Regions from separate parts of the Homo sapiens genome. Here all the other regions are linked to region 2. The links are contacts of gene promoters, found by promoter capture Hi-C in blood cells and fetal thymus (Javierre and others, 2016). All regions are on one chromosome and are shown on one strand. The core of a region is centred on a gene start or on the middle of the fragment in contact, and the rest is flanking DNA. Distances in the headings are between cores, read along the strand shown.

Region 1 (4,358 bases), core at 1,469-3,968, 1.0 Mb after region 2:
GCATGGCACACGGGAATGCCTTTAATGTTGTCTTATATAGTAGTGCCTCCTGGTACTCCCGATGTTTGGTCTTGTTTTGCTCTAATGCCTTGGTGTTTAGCATTTGGAAATGCTGGTTAATTATGTGTGAGGCAGCGGGTGGTGGCTCCCCATTTGTGTCATGTGTTTGACAAATGGTCCTTTATTCCACTGGCCTCTTGATTCCCTTGCTGAAGAATCCCAGGGTGGGCTAGGGGTGGCGTGAGGGGGTGGGGTAGCTAGAGGGAGGAGAGATGATCAGGGTGTAGAGTGCTGGAGGCTCAGGGGAGACGAATAATGGAGGCTTTGTGGTGTTCCATTATTAATGAGGGGAAGAGTGTCCTGGCCAGCTTTAAAACCTGAGCTTTTGAGGTTCGGGGAGCTGAGGCTGAGGGATGGGGTGGGGGTGATAACAACCAAACGTGTCGGTGCTGGAGTTGCAGGGAGAGACTCCCATTCTGATTTCTCCTTCTCCAGCTACCCTAATTACCTTTCTTCTCTACCTTTGTTCTTTTTTAGGAATTTGACAAGAAATATAACCCTACCTGGCATTGTATCGTGGGCCGAAATTTTGGCAGCTACGTCACACACGAGACAAAGCACTTCATCTATTTTTACTTGGGTCAAGTTGCAATCCTCCTCTTCAAGTCAGGCTAGGTGGCCATGGTGAAGGTGTCAGTGGCGGCGGCAGCGATGGCAAGCAGGCGGCGTTGCTGGGACTGTTTTGCACTGGAGCCAGCATCAGGATGTCCTCTCCAATGGCTGTGCTACTGCATGGACTGTATACTCGATTTCATGTGTATGTCGCAGTAAACAAAACCAAACCTCTTTCTGTTTAGTTGCCTGGGGGAAGAAGGCTGCTTTATGTTTATTTTTCAAGACTTTAAAAATATTTTTTGGTTGTATTGCACTAGGAAATCTCTCCCACCTCTCCCTTTTCTCTTTCTTTCCCTATACAAAATAAAAGGCCCACCATAGAGACTAGGCGGCCGAAAGACTAGGAGGGCTGAGGAAAAGAAATAGGTCTCTGGAGGTGGAACTAAAACTGTGCAGCTGCCTCTTCCTGGCGGTGGATGCTGCTTTGGGAGGGCCAGGGAGGCTGCAGGGGGACAGTGTTGGGATTGTCAAGGAAAAAGGGGTAGGAAGGAAGGTGGAGGGATTGATCTAGTACCAGGGAGAATATTCCACTGAACTGTGATTCTATGGCTTGGGGCGGAGGGTGGGGTGGGGATGCCTTCTTTAGGGGCCCTGAGATGTGTTTGTCTGTGGTGTGTGGGAGTGGGGAGCAGATTTGTCTTGCTGTCTTTGTCAGAATTTCTAAGTAAGGGCTGTGTCTTTGTGGATTACCTTCTTTTGTTCTTCCTGCCAGAGATCATGACAGGAGGATGCTGGGGTAGGATTAGCTTGAATCTTTTTTTTCTTTACATTTTTCTCCTGTCTGCTCCCTGCTTAGCCCTCAGTTTCCTCATTCCTCTGGAGTTCTCTTAGAGCAGCCCCTGTTGTTAGTTGGCTGGCAAGGGAATTTCTGGTGACTGTAGTTCCTTAGTTAGGTCTTAGCAATCAAACCAAATTGATGTCTCCCTTGACTCTTCTGTGTATATGTGTGAATATGTGTGTATATGTGTGTGTATGTGTGTGTGGGGTTTGGGGTAGAAGGGAGGGAGGGGGCAGGACAGTGTGGAATCTCTAGGGTGTATGGGTAGGTAGGGGGCACAGTTAGTTCTAAGTGGGCTTTTATGCTAAAAGCCTCTGGGGATATCTGTTTTGAAAATAAAGATAGGTGTCCCCTCCTTGCTGTCATCTAGCCCAGACACTCTGCTTGCTCTCTGGCTGTCTGCTCCCTGGGAAGGCTTTAGGAGGACCACCCAGGACAGGATGACCATGCTGCCATCTGCTCTGGAGCTGGGTCTCAGTGCAGAGGGACAGTGACTGTGGATGGTTGCAGTCTCTGGTGGGAGGTGAGGATAGAAGTGATAAAGAGCTAAGAGGAGCTTCTGGGAGCCTTGGAGGAGGTCAGTCTTGCAGTGGTGAAGCCAGGACATAGGAGATGGAGCAGGGCTGTGAGAGGAGGAGATTCTGAGGAGGATGCAGGGGAAATCTTGTCTGTTAATGAAATAGGAGTGGGGTGGGGTTTGGGGTGGGGTGGTCATTGCCGTTTGAGCTGCTGATTTTCATGAGTCGCCTTCAAAACTCTCGTGTAGGGTTGACAATGTGGGGGGGTGGGGGATCCAGCTTATTCTTTTATTTTCAAGTCCATTCTTGGGGCTGGTGGGGAGGCAGGAGAATACCCCTCCCTAAGCCCTTAGTGTGTGCCGAGCTTGCTTTGTGATGTTGGCAGGGGAGGGGAGACCTGGGTGGTGACTGAGTTCCCTTTATCAAACCCTTCAGTGGGCACAAAATTGAGTGCTTGATTTTAGGTTTTATTTTTTTATGAATGTCCAAATCTGTGTTTCCCCCTGCCCTCCCAGACTGTGTGGCCAGTTGAAAGTGTCTGGTTTGTGTTCATCTCTCCCTCATTTCTGGAGCAGGGCCTGAGACCCTGCCACATCTCCTATGCTCTGCATCCACGCCTCTTTTGGACATTAAAGGTTGATTGATGCACCTCTGCACTGTTTGGGTCTCTTTGGGGATGAGGGGTTGGCATGGTGGCAGTGGTGCCACACAGTGGGTGAGGGTGGAGAGTCTCCAGGGTGGAATAGAATGGGGACTGAAGGGAAGACCAGCCACTAGATACTGATTGGCCTGTAGCAGCACTTATTTGTGCCTAGGCTTATGCCCCTTAAGTAGAGGAAAACTAACCAGCAGCACTCACCCTTAAGGGCTCCTGGGTTCTGCCTTCCTTGGTGGTGATGGCCAGGTGAATCATATTTTGTGTCTTTGGGATAGTAACTGCTACCTTCCCAGCTGCCGTCATGGACCTGCCTGAGCTTTGCTGCTTCAACTTTTGCCCAAAGCTCTTATCTTTCATACTCCTCCCTTCTCGGCTTTCCTGAACCTGGAGACTATTTAGCAAAGGGTCTGGCCACTCAGAAATGGAAAGCTGGGGATATTTAGAAAGATGGCACCTCTTTTGGTGGAACCTAAGTGATTCTCTGAATCCTCTGTTGCCCAGACACACAACTCGAGAAATCAGCAGTGCCAAGACTTCTGAGAGTGTCTGCCCACCCCTGACTCCACCATCGTGTGACTGCAATTCTCTTGGAGGTGTTAGGGAGCCAGAGGTGCTTTGCCCTCTTTGTGTTACTATTTCTTTACTCAAAAATATTTAAGAGTTCTTGTATGCTTGGGCCTAGGATGCTGTTCACAGAGGAGAATGAGACAAGTAAGTTCTAGGCTTCTATGACATACACATTCTTATGTGTAGAGCAGACATACACACACTGATCAACTTTTTCCAATAGTGATAAATGTGTTATCAAGGAAATGAACTGGGCAATGAGCTATTGAGTGTTGGAGGTAGGTAGATAGGGTTCCTCCAGTTAGGAAGGTGGTTGGCTGATCTTGGGGAGAAGTTCTACCTCTGGGGCAGTGAGGTCCTAAGGGATTAAGTTGAGAGACTCTAGAGCCCCAACTTCTGTTACTGCTTTAGCTGTCGTGAGTAATTTGACAGAGCTGGAGCTTTGGGAGGGAGAGTGAGGCCACAGTTCACATTTCATCAGGGATGAGTGTCTCCAGGGCCAAAGCTCATCTACTTTCTTCCCTGATGAAAGAGGCAGTCCAGGTGGCATCTGTGAACAACACATTCCTGCACAGGTAGGTGCACAGTGCTCATCTGGAAGACTAATCCTGCAGGGCTTCCTGGAGGAGATGAGCCTCCACTTTTCGGGGCCCAGGATGGGAAAGTATGTGAGCATGTGTCACTGAAGGGACTGTGGAAAGCAGATGGAAATTGTGGAATTCTCTCGGAACAATGCAGCCATTATTAGAACTGTGCCCATAGGAGCATCAATATCCCTGCTCCTTGTATCCTGTTCTCCAGTCTTCTGGGGACCCCCTTTGACTGAACCCAACCAAATGGCAGATGACAAGGCAGACCCAGGATGCAGTCTGTAGGGTTCAGTCCCCCTCCCCACTGGGAACAGCAGGAAAGGGCAAGGTGGTGACAATCTAAGGGAGGCAAATGGATAATAACCAGCATGGTAGGGAATCTTCTTTGTTGCTGTGGCACTGTCGATCTCTGTTCCCTGAACTCTAGTGTCCTCCAGACTAGATTTAAGGTGTGGTTCCCCGCTAAATTATTCTCTCACCTCCTTTCAGTCTTTGCTCAAACATCCTTTTATCAGAGAGGCTTTCTGACATCCTGTGCAAGATAGCACCTCTCCCCCATCGCTGTTATCCTT
Region 2 (4,220 bases), core at 1-2,500:
GCGGGCGGATCACGACGTCAGGAGATCGAAACCATCCTAGCTAACACGGTGAAACCCCATCTCTACTAAAAATACAAAAAATTAGCCGGGCGTGGTGGCAGGCGCCTGTAGTCCCAGCTACTCGGGAGGCTGAGGCAGGAGAATGGCGTGAACCTGGGAGGCGGAGCTTGCAGTGAGCCGAGATCGTGCCACTGCACTCCAGCCTGGGCGACAGAGCAAGACTCCGTCTCACAAAAAAAAAAAAATAAAAAATAGGGCTCTTTTTCTTTCTTTCCTATGTCAGTTTCCTATTTGTTTCCTTCCTGACATCTACCACACCATGCAATTGGGATTCATATATATATGAATTTGACTTAAATCTCATTAGGTATAGTAAATGGCATCTGTCATTTAAACTTGCATTTGATCACTAGTGAAGATTAAGCATTTTCCCAAGTAATTGTTAGTTCTTAGCATGATCTATTTTCTATATTTTGGCCAAACAAATGTTCATTTAAAGTCACTTTGTTTTAAGGATGACAGCAGGGCTGGACAGCCAAAACCCTACCCTCTCCATTTATTTTGGAGGAATTTATTTTCCCAAGGTCCTGGCAGAGATAGTGACTCACCGTGACTATCTCTGCAAAAATCATTCCAAAACCCACACCAATTCAGAGAAAAGTGCTTCATTTCGATAACATCGACTTGTGAAAACGAGCAAGAAAGTTGCATTTGAGTGGTACCAGGTTTCACCATTATGCAGTTATCGAGCAATTATTAATGGCCAACCCAATTATACGCTACAAGGAAATGACGGTCACAGGGAAGCTCAAAGCCCCGAAGCGAGGGAAGCCCTGCTCCTCACCGGCCCCTCCGCCTTTTCCAGGGCGCTCTCCGTCCCGAGGCAGGAGATGGCCTGGTTGACCCTTCGAGACAAGGCGGCAAAACCGGTGCTGGGCTTGCGGGGCAGGGAATCAAGGTTCCTCCGGTTGCTGTACCGTCCCGCCCGGCCCCTCTCCCGGGCACCGGAGAGATGACGGCTCTCTCGCGAGAGCGCGAGCAAGACCCGGCTCCGGGCGGCGGCGGGATGTTAGCCCAGCGCTGTAGACCGCGCCCCCTCTGGCGCAGCTGGGAGAGGCGCGGCGGAGGCACTGCCGGGAGCGGCCGGCGGCGCGCACGCGCAGGTGAGCGGGGCGGGCTCGGGAGCGCGCGGGCACAAGGGCGAGGGGCGGGGCCTGCGTCGCGCTGCGGGCACGTCGCCGCGCGTCTTCAGTATTTAATGTCTCTGTGTTCCACCCGCCTGGGCTAGCACGTGGGGGAGCTGCGGAAGCGCGGCGCTGCGGGCCGGGCCGCGGGGCACAGCCGGGGGCCGGCGGCGGCGCGCGGACTCCGCATCCCGCACCCCGATGGTAGCCGAGGAGCTGGTAGGTCGGGGGCAGCTGCGCCGGGGACCCCCTGCCGGAGACCCGAAGGCGGCGGGGTCGGGGCGATGGGGAGCCTGAGGTGCAGGTGCAGGGTGCGACGCGCCCTCCAGGTACCCCGGGGGCGGGACGCTCCGGACGCAGAGGTGTCCTGGGGGCTCTCGGCCGCCGCGCGCTGTCAGGCAGGCCCATCTTTCCCTCCCTCGTCTGCGCCCCCTCTCGTCCTTCCCCGCCGGTTGTCTGCCCGCGGGCTCCTGACAGATCGCGTGTGCGCGGCTCTGGGCGGCGCTCTGCGGCCGCGCCGTCCTCCCCACGCGCGTCACTGTCCTCGGGGGCGGGGGGCGAGGGCGCGACGCCCGGGTCGCCTCTCTGCACCTCAACTTAACCGGAGCGTGCACACCCGCCTGCGAGGCTGACCCGAGCGCGTCCCACCCAAGGTCGCCCAGCCCCGCGGGCGTTTACTTTTCAAAGGTCGTGTGTACACAGTCTGAGCCGGAGCTGCCCCTTCACTTCTGGAGCCTCGCCCAACTTCTCACCCTCGGCTCGCCCGCCGGCGCAGCCCCTGGGAGTTCCGTGCGGCGAGCCAGGGGAACTGGGAAGATGGGCCGGGACATCGGCCGGTTGTGATCCAACCGTGTTTCGGGCTGAGGGACCGTTCGAACCGAATTGGGGTCTGGAGGTCGGAGGCTCAGGGGCGTCTCGGGGGGAATTTGCATTCGTAGCCCCTGCAGGCGTGTCCGGAGGGGTGGAGGCCGTCCAGCCTGGGGTGTCTGCCGACCTCACGCCCGGGGGCCCCGACGGTCACGTGTCCGGCCCCGCCTGCGGCCCAGGGCCCGGGGTCTGCGATCTGGAGGGACCGCGCCAGTTTTGGGGTTACGATGTGCTAGGAGAGGCAGTGGCTGGATGCCTCGAACGCGGGCTTTCTGGCGTTCAACTCTTTTGTGCCCTAGCTGAAGGTCTTCCTGTTTCCCTTCCAGGGAGGGATAGGAGAAGAAAGGTGCTGATCGTGGTAGGCGGTGCTGTGGCGACTCGGAACGGCATGGGAGCCCTGGGCGTTTCGGGATCTTCCTCTCCTGGGGGATGTCCTGGGTGGCGGCGCCTTCCTGCCGCCGTTAACACAAACCCGGTGGACTTCGCTCCAGGTGCGAGTCGAGGCCTCTCAAGCTGGGTAGGGTGTATGCGCAGGGCAATTAGTGAGGTTAACCTGGGTATCTTTCCCCTACTGTAGTGCGCGTTACTTCGTGTTTAGATTTGTCTCCAGTGAAATCTAGGCTGCTGGACCTGGTGCAACAGTATCTGTTAGTTACTGATCAAGGAACACCGTTCACAAAAAGCTATTAATTCTGGCAACTAGTAGCCTTACAAGCTCTTGTAACTGCTAAGTCCTTCCCAAATTAGTACCTTTTTTTTTTTTAACTCTTTATTTAGAAAGCAAAGCTTGGACTCTTAGCACCACCCATCCACTTTGCTCTTAAAGGTACAGAACATCTTTGAAATGAAGAAGGCTGCCTGACTTGATCATTTATATAATTCCTCTGATCTTGGCATTGAAGTGGTTCACCTGCTGATTATTTAAGACCCTGAGCACTGGAAGCAAGTGAAGTTATGTTTTGGGAACCTTTTGACTTGTGTTGAACTTTTCTTTAACCTCTAACTAGTTTTGTAGGTTCTGCATAATTCTTGGGTGTATTCTCTTTGAAATATGGCCCTAGGTTAGAGGAGGTCCTCTGGATCCTACAGGCATGCAAATCACTAAAGCTTGAGTCCATTACTGGATTAATAGGCTCTGTCTTCATGCATGTTGTCAGATGATGGCTCAGAACTTGCAGGTAACAGATCCTAGCCAATGAGTGAGACAGGTCTAATGGATTTGTGTCTAGGTCTAGTTCCTTGTAGGAATATCTCTCCCATCTCCCAGTTGTTTCTAGGAAATGCATTCTCACTTGGCCACTGCAGGGTGACAGTGGAGGTGTCTGTTGTAAGTGGCCTGCTCAGGTGCTGAAGTCGATATGTCTCCAGTGTAAGGTTGCTGAACATCAATATTTAAAAGCAATTTATCTTGCTGCCTGGTAACCCAAATTATTCTTGAGCTTTGGACATAGGCTGGGTTGCAGCCATATTTTAGGGGAAGGCTGGTGTTAGCCTCTACAGTATTCCCTTTTCCTGTCCTAAAGACAAATGGAGATCATATTTGTGATACTGGGGACTGTGATAGGTGCTTAAGCATTGCTCTTCCCCTCTCCTCCCTGAACAATCCCTGAGACTGACTTTGTTTCTCTTGAATTACTTGAGTGACTTGAATTCTATTAAAAGCACCCCTCTCCTTAGCCTCTGACCCAGAAGCTTGTTTGGGAGGAAAAACGAATTGGTTTCCCTAAGCTTTGCTGGCTAGCCTCCTGCTCCCAGCCTGCAACATGACTTGATTGTGTGTGCATTTCAGGGCTTTGAAGAGCAGGCAGCTTGTAGCCAATGTACCCAGAGAGCTGGCCGTAGAGTTCCCCTAGGTCACTCCTTCCTAATCTTCCCTGTGAGTCTGAATGATTGGGCCTTTCTGTAGCTTGGTCTGTTTTCCTATTGTGGGGAAGTCAGTTGTTTCAGGTATGAGTTAATACCTTCAGCTTGTCATTCTCAGGCGTTTTCTTCCACTATGGGGAGGTAGTAGATCCTGTGGGCATCTTGTCCCATTGAAATCATCTCATATACTGTTTGAGAGTTGCTCATCTTTATGGTGGGGGGTGTATTTTAGTCCTAAATCTTGCTTCTTAGGGCAAGTTCTGTTTCTTCCATGTTCCTTCCTGGTGTAATACCTCAGGCAGTTTT
Region 3 (4,422 bases), core at 854-3,353, 1.4 Mb after region 2:
ACAGAAACTCACGTTGATGACAGAGTCCTTGAATTTGATATGCAGCCGGTAGTTAGAGATGGCAATGAGGGCATCGGCTGCCCGGCCCAGGAACTCTACTCCCTCACCCTGCAGCACTGTGAAGGGGACCTGTCAAGGGGCAGAGAAACCTTCAGTCCAGAAGTGAGTGACCACCTTATCCTCTTCTACAGCCCCTGATCTGTGGGATCCCCTCTGGAAAAGGTGGGCCAAGGCAAGAGAGGAGAGTTCTCTCCACGGTAACAGCACCAGGCAACAGCTGTACAGGAAAGCTGCCTTTCCTTCCCTGCGGCCAAAGGCTCCAGGATGCGCAGACAAACCCTCCTCCTCCAGAGACCAGGGAACATGAAGCCAGAGCTCTGGTACCAGATGCCCTTGAGGATTTTTGGGAGAAGGGAGGGTGTTTTTTAACTGGGCAGGGAGCCCCATCTATCCTGGCCCCCAACTCCTCCTTACCTGAAGATTCTCTTCCTCCTTCACTAGTTCCTTGGGGGGGAACAGATCCTTGGCTTGGATGTACTCCAGGCTGGGGGGCCCCTCCTCACCCTGTAGGAAGGCCACAGTCCTAAGTCACCAAGCTCCACTTAGCCCATCAGGCTCATTCTGCTCCTCTCCCCACCAAGAAATCCACAGATACCCACACACACACACCTCTAAAGGTTCTGGTCACCAGAGAAGGGAAAAGAGATCTGACTTGGTTGGAGACAGGGAAGGGTGAAATGGAGAGCATATCAGCCTATTAAGCCTAAGGAAAGAGTGAGGCCCCAGGAGGAATTGGGAATCTGCACTCTTCAAAGAGGGACTCTCCTATAGAACCAACATTTCAAAAATGGAGGAGAGAAAACTAAGGAAAAGAAAGACTCTTTCCCTTAGACCCGCATAAGGGTAAGGCAGGAGTGGGGATGGGAAAGTGCTGTCCTGAGGAAAAGGAGCCAGGTATGGCAGCTGGTTTCAGAGAGAAGGGAAATCAGGCGCCTACAAGCCACTGAAGCTTCAATCTGGTGGGTGAAGGAGACAAAGAGGAGTGGGTGGGGGGATTCAGTCCCACGCCTCTAGAGGGCCTTCACCGACGCTTTCAAAAGGAAGACGTGTTTGAGAGCTGGGCTTATCTTCTTGTTAGACCCACATTGCTGACAAGCCCCCATTACCTGCCAAGTAACCTGCTCTGCCTGCTAATCAGAGGGGAATTCCTGAGGAATACCCACAGCAAGCAAAAGGAACTCCCCTCCCAACCACCAGGGAGGGGACCCGGGGGGATCCACGCGCCTGGGAGGAGCCAGGAGACCCAAGGACAGCCAGGGGAGAGAGAGAGAGGAGGCCCGGCAGACACCCACGGGGAAGGTGGGGGGACAGCTGAGAGGACAGATGGGGGAAGCTGGGAAGGAGCATCAGCCAGAGCGGGAGGAGGGGAGGACCGGGAATGATGCAGAGGTACGGAACCCTGCAGAGGCAGGGAAGATGGAGAAGAGAGGCTGTCTGGGGGACAGTCAAGGAGAAAAGGCTGGCATGCCAGGTGAGGGATGGAATGGTGGAAGAGGGAAGGGACTGGAGCCCCAAGCCAGCTCAAAGACATCCCGTGCTCCCCGACCAACCTCCTAACATCCCATTCAGCCTACTAGCCACATCCCACATCCCCAAGCAAGGATTCAGCGGGTGGGACCAAGAGGGAGAGGCGGAGGTAAAGGGATGTACCCCTGCAGGGCGGGGCCTAGAGATCTGCAGTCAAGGGCAGTGGCTGCGGGGCCAGGATGGACCACAGAATTTCCATTCCTGGCCTTCGACCATCTCCGGCACCCAAAGATTGAAGCAAGTCCAAGAAATAAAAGGGTTAACCCACCTTCCCTGCCCCCCAAACGTTCGGGGCCGGGCCAGGGGCCTCGGGAAGGGGGATGGGCTGAAATCGAGGGCTGACCCTGGGCGGGGCTGCGGGTGCCTCCTAGGCCCCCAAAGGCAGGGTGGGCACTTACGAAGCAGCTAAGCATGGAGCAGGAGACGCGGGCGGTCAGGCTCATGGTCGCGGGCGGTCTGGGCCAGCGCACATGTCCCCGGAGCCGCTGCGCTGCCCGCCAGCCCCGGGCGCCCGCCGCATCCCGGCTGCGGGGCTCGCCAGGTGCAGCCGCGGCGGCCAAGAGGCTAGGGCGCTGGTGGCCGGGCCTCCGCGCGGCTCCCGCGCGCCTCTCCCCTCCTCTCCACAATGGAGCGGGCCCAGCTCCGCCCTCCCGCACGAGTGCAGAAGGGAGGGGAGCCAGGCGAGGGGAGAGCCCGGGACCGCGGCGGGAAGGCGGAGGTAGAGGCGGGGCGGCTCCGCGGGCCCCGCCCACAAGCCCAGCCTCCTCCCTCCCCGCGGACCCTGGGCCTCGTAGGAGGGCGTACCCTACTCCAGGGACCTTTAGGAGCTTTCAGGAATCTGGGCTACGGGACCGCCCACATCTTCTCATTTCCCTTCTTCTAAGGTGAGCCACCCCATGCCCTCTTACAAACCCATCCCCGCGCCCCCTCCCCTAAGTTCCCCCGACGCCTGCTCTGGATCCCAAGGTGGAGCTCACCTACCCGCACCCCATTTGCTTCCTCCTTTCCCTCCAAAACCACTACCCACCATGCCCCTGCCCATCAGGGTCCTTCAATCCCGTGACTTCGTTAAACCTTTCTTTCCCCTTAGAATGGTGCCAGGTTAGTCATTCCACGCTCCTGGAAAGGGAAATGAGCTTTTTATTCCAACGCCCCTACCCAACCCTACTCCTTCAGCTCCATCTCTCCCTTGTTTCACATTCTGATCTCTGGGTAAGAAAGCCCTTCTTGGAGGAGAAAGGATTTCTTAGTCTGGGAAAGTGAAGAGCTAGAAGTATCGACCACAGAAGCTATACAAAAAAACGAAACTTGAAACCCAGGAGCAGCGGAGTAGAGAGAGTTGGGTAGAGGGCCAAGGAATAAGGACCAGGAATAAGGGGCTCAAAATGTCACCAAGAGTCACAGAGGGAGGTGGCTGGAACCCCAAACTTCCTGCACCTTGTAACTTTCAGACACCAGGGCTTTTGTCTTGTTTGGGGGAGAAGGGAGTAATAAAAGAAAACCTGACATTTTATTAAGCATCTACAATGAGCCAGGCAGTTTCTAACATTATCTCAGTAAAACTTTTCAAGCCCCAAGAAGTAAACCTTATCCTGTCTTACTCGTGAGACTCAAGCTTAGAGAGAAAGTATGTAATTTAACTAAGTGGTGGTGCTAGGATTTGAAATTAGATGAAGCTGACTGTGAAGCCCATGCTCTTTTCAGGGTAGCCCAGAAGAGAAAAAGAGGAGCTATCTGTTGGTGGGGGCCAAAACCAGCAGGCTTTCTGAGAAGAGACTGAACCAATAGTGCACACACCAAATCCACATGTCTATGGAAGGAAGGGAGGGAAGGAGGAAATCCTCTCATCTACTGAATTCTTTAACCTGCCCCTAAGCACAAGGGACACCTAAAAGACACCGAAGAGATACTACCAGGTTAAGGGCCTGGTCTGGGCCAGGGCCTACAGCTCTCTAGGCCTTTCCCATCTCACTGCCTCCTCCTAGCTCTTAGGAGTTAAGGGCTTCCCTGGACTTGGGGTGAGAGAAGGGCTGTTACAGTTAATGGAAAATTAATAGGATCATTGTAAACCACCTCTGGTGATATTCTGGGCACCCTGAAGATGCTATCCTGATAGATATTCAATCAGCTGTCACCTGTAGTGGCTTAACAGCAGCACCCTGGAACTAGAGAAGCCCCACAGTTTTGGTGGAGTCACTCCTGATATAGCATCCACAATATTCAAAGGACCCACCAGAAGTCCAAAGATCTTGAGATAAAGAAGGCCCAGCTTTTCAGACCAGAACACAGAGATTCTACCGGGGACCCAAGAAAAGCAAGAAGAGGGCTGTTATGAAGGGTTAATAGAACCAGTGGTGGGTAGGGAGTAGGAGGAAAGTGTGGGGCCTAGCACATGCAGAAAATGATTTCTAGAAGCTTCCAGTCCCAGTGCTGTATACTGGCTGATGTTTTGCAATCTAAAGAAACCCTAATTTATCTCCAGGGCAGATGAACATGTTTAGGAGCTGAACAGGGTAGCCTGGAGCTCAAGGTCTAGGACAGGTGGGGCAGCTTCACAGAGAAAGACACATGGATTACAGAAAACACAATGGCCTGAGGAAAGACAGGGTACTCACCATTCTACCGTGGCAAGGGTACTGGCTGCCTGCTTCTCACTGTAAGGAGACAGAGGAACATAAAAGTAAAGGACCCCATTAACATTACCATAGAATCAACAAATGACACACATCTACCCCTGACCTTCTCTACAACTCTTATTCTTCTCCCTCACAGAGACTCCAGTCTCTCCACAAGTCACCATGCCAGAGAGAGGCAATGGGAGCTACATGAGGAGAA

What was found. The method cuts DNA at HindIII sites, captures the fragments that hold promoters and counts their contacts. A CHiCAGO score of 5 or more calls a contact.
Region 1: a contact is called between a fragment that was not itself captured here and the fragment with the promoter of AKAP1 in region 2, in 2 of 17 cell types (monocytes and fetal thymus). The highest score is 6.3, in monocytes.
Region 3: a contact is called between a fragment that was not itself captured here and the fragment with the promoter of AKAP1 in region 2, in 1 of 17 cell types (non-activated CD4 T cells). The highest score is 5.4, in non-activated CD4 T cells.

What each region holds. Positions count from the first base shown.
Region 1 is chr17:58,088,605-58,092,962 of GRCh38, forward strand. DYNLL2 (dynein light chain LC8-type 2) reads left to right here. Exons shown (of 3, transcript NM_080677.3): 3 at 538-4,358. The coding sequence ends at 675. Among named protein-coding and RNA genes, the nearest start is that of DYNLL2, 7.4 kb to the left of the region's middle. The HindIII fragment of the contact is 8,795 bases long and covers 1-4,358 here.
Region 2 is chr17:57,083,996-57,088,215 of GRCh38, forward strand. AKAP1 (A-kinase anchoring protein 1) reads left to right here and starts at 1,251. Exons shown (of 11, transcript NM_003488.4): 1 at 1,251-1,403. It overlaps AKAP1-DT (AKAP1 divergent transcript), which reads right to left and starts at 1,043. Exons shown (of 3, transcript NR_186437.1): 1 at 845-1,043. RefSeq lists enhancers at 708-787, 1,827-2,329 and silencers at 1,008-1,587, 1,628-1,927, 2,208-2,297. The HindIII fragment of the contact is 3,215 bases long and covers 1-2,835 here.
Region 3 is chr17:58,512,378-58,516,799 of GRCh38, forward strand. It overlaps MTMR4 (myotubularin related protein 4), which reads right to left and starts at 2,261. Exons shown (of 18, transcript NM_001378067.1): 1 at 1,986-2,261; 2 at 475-564; 3 at 13-129. The coding sequence starts at 2,030. RefSeq lists an enhancer at 1,065-1,124 and a silencer at 1,985-2,444. The HindIII fragment of the contact is 2,193 bases long and covers 1,008-3,200 here.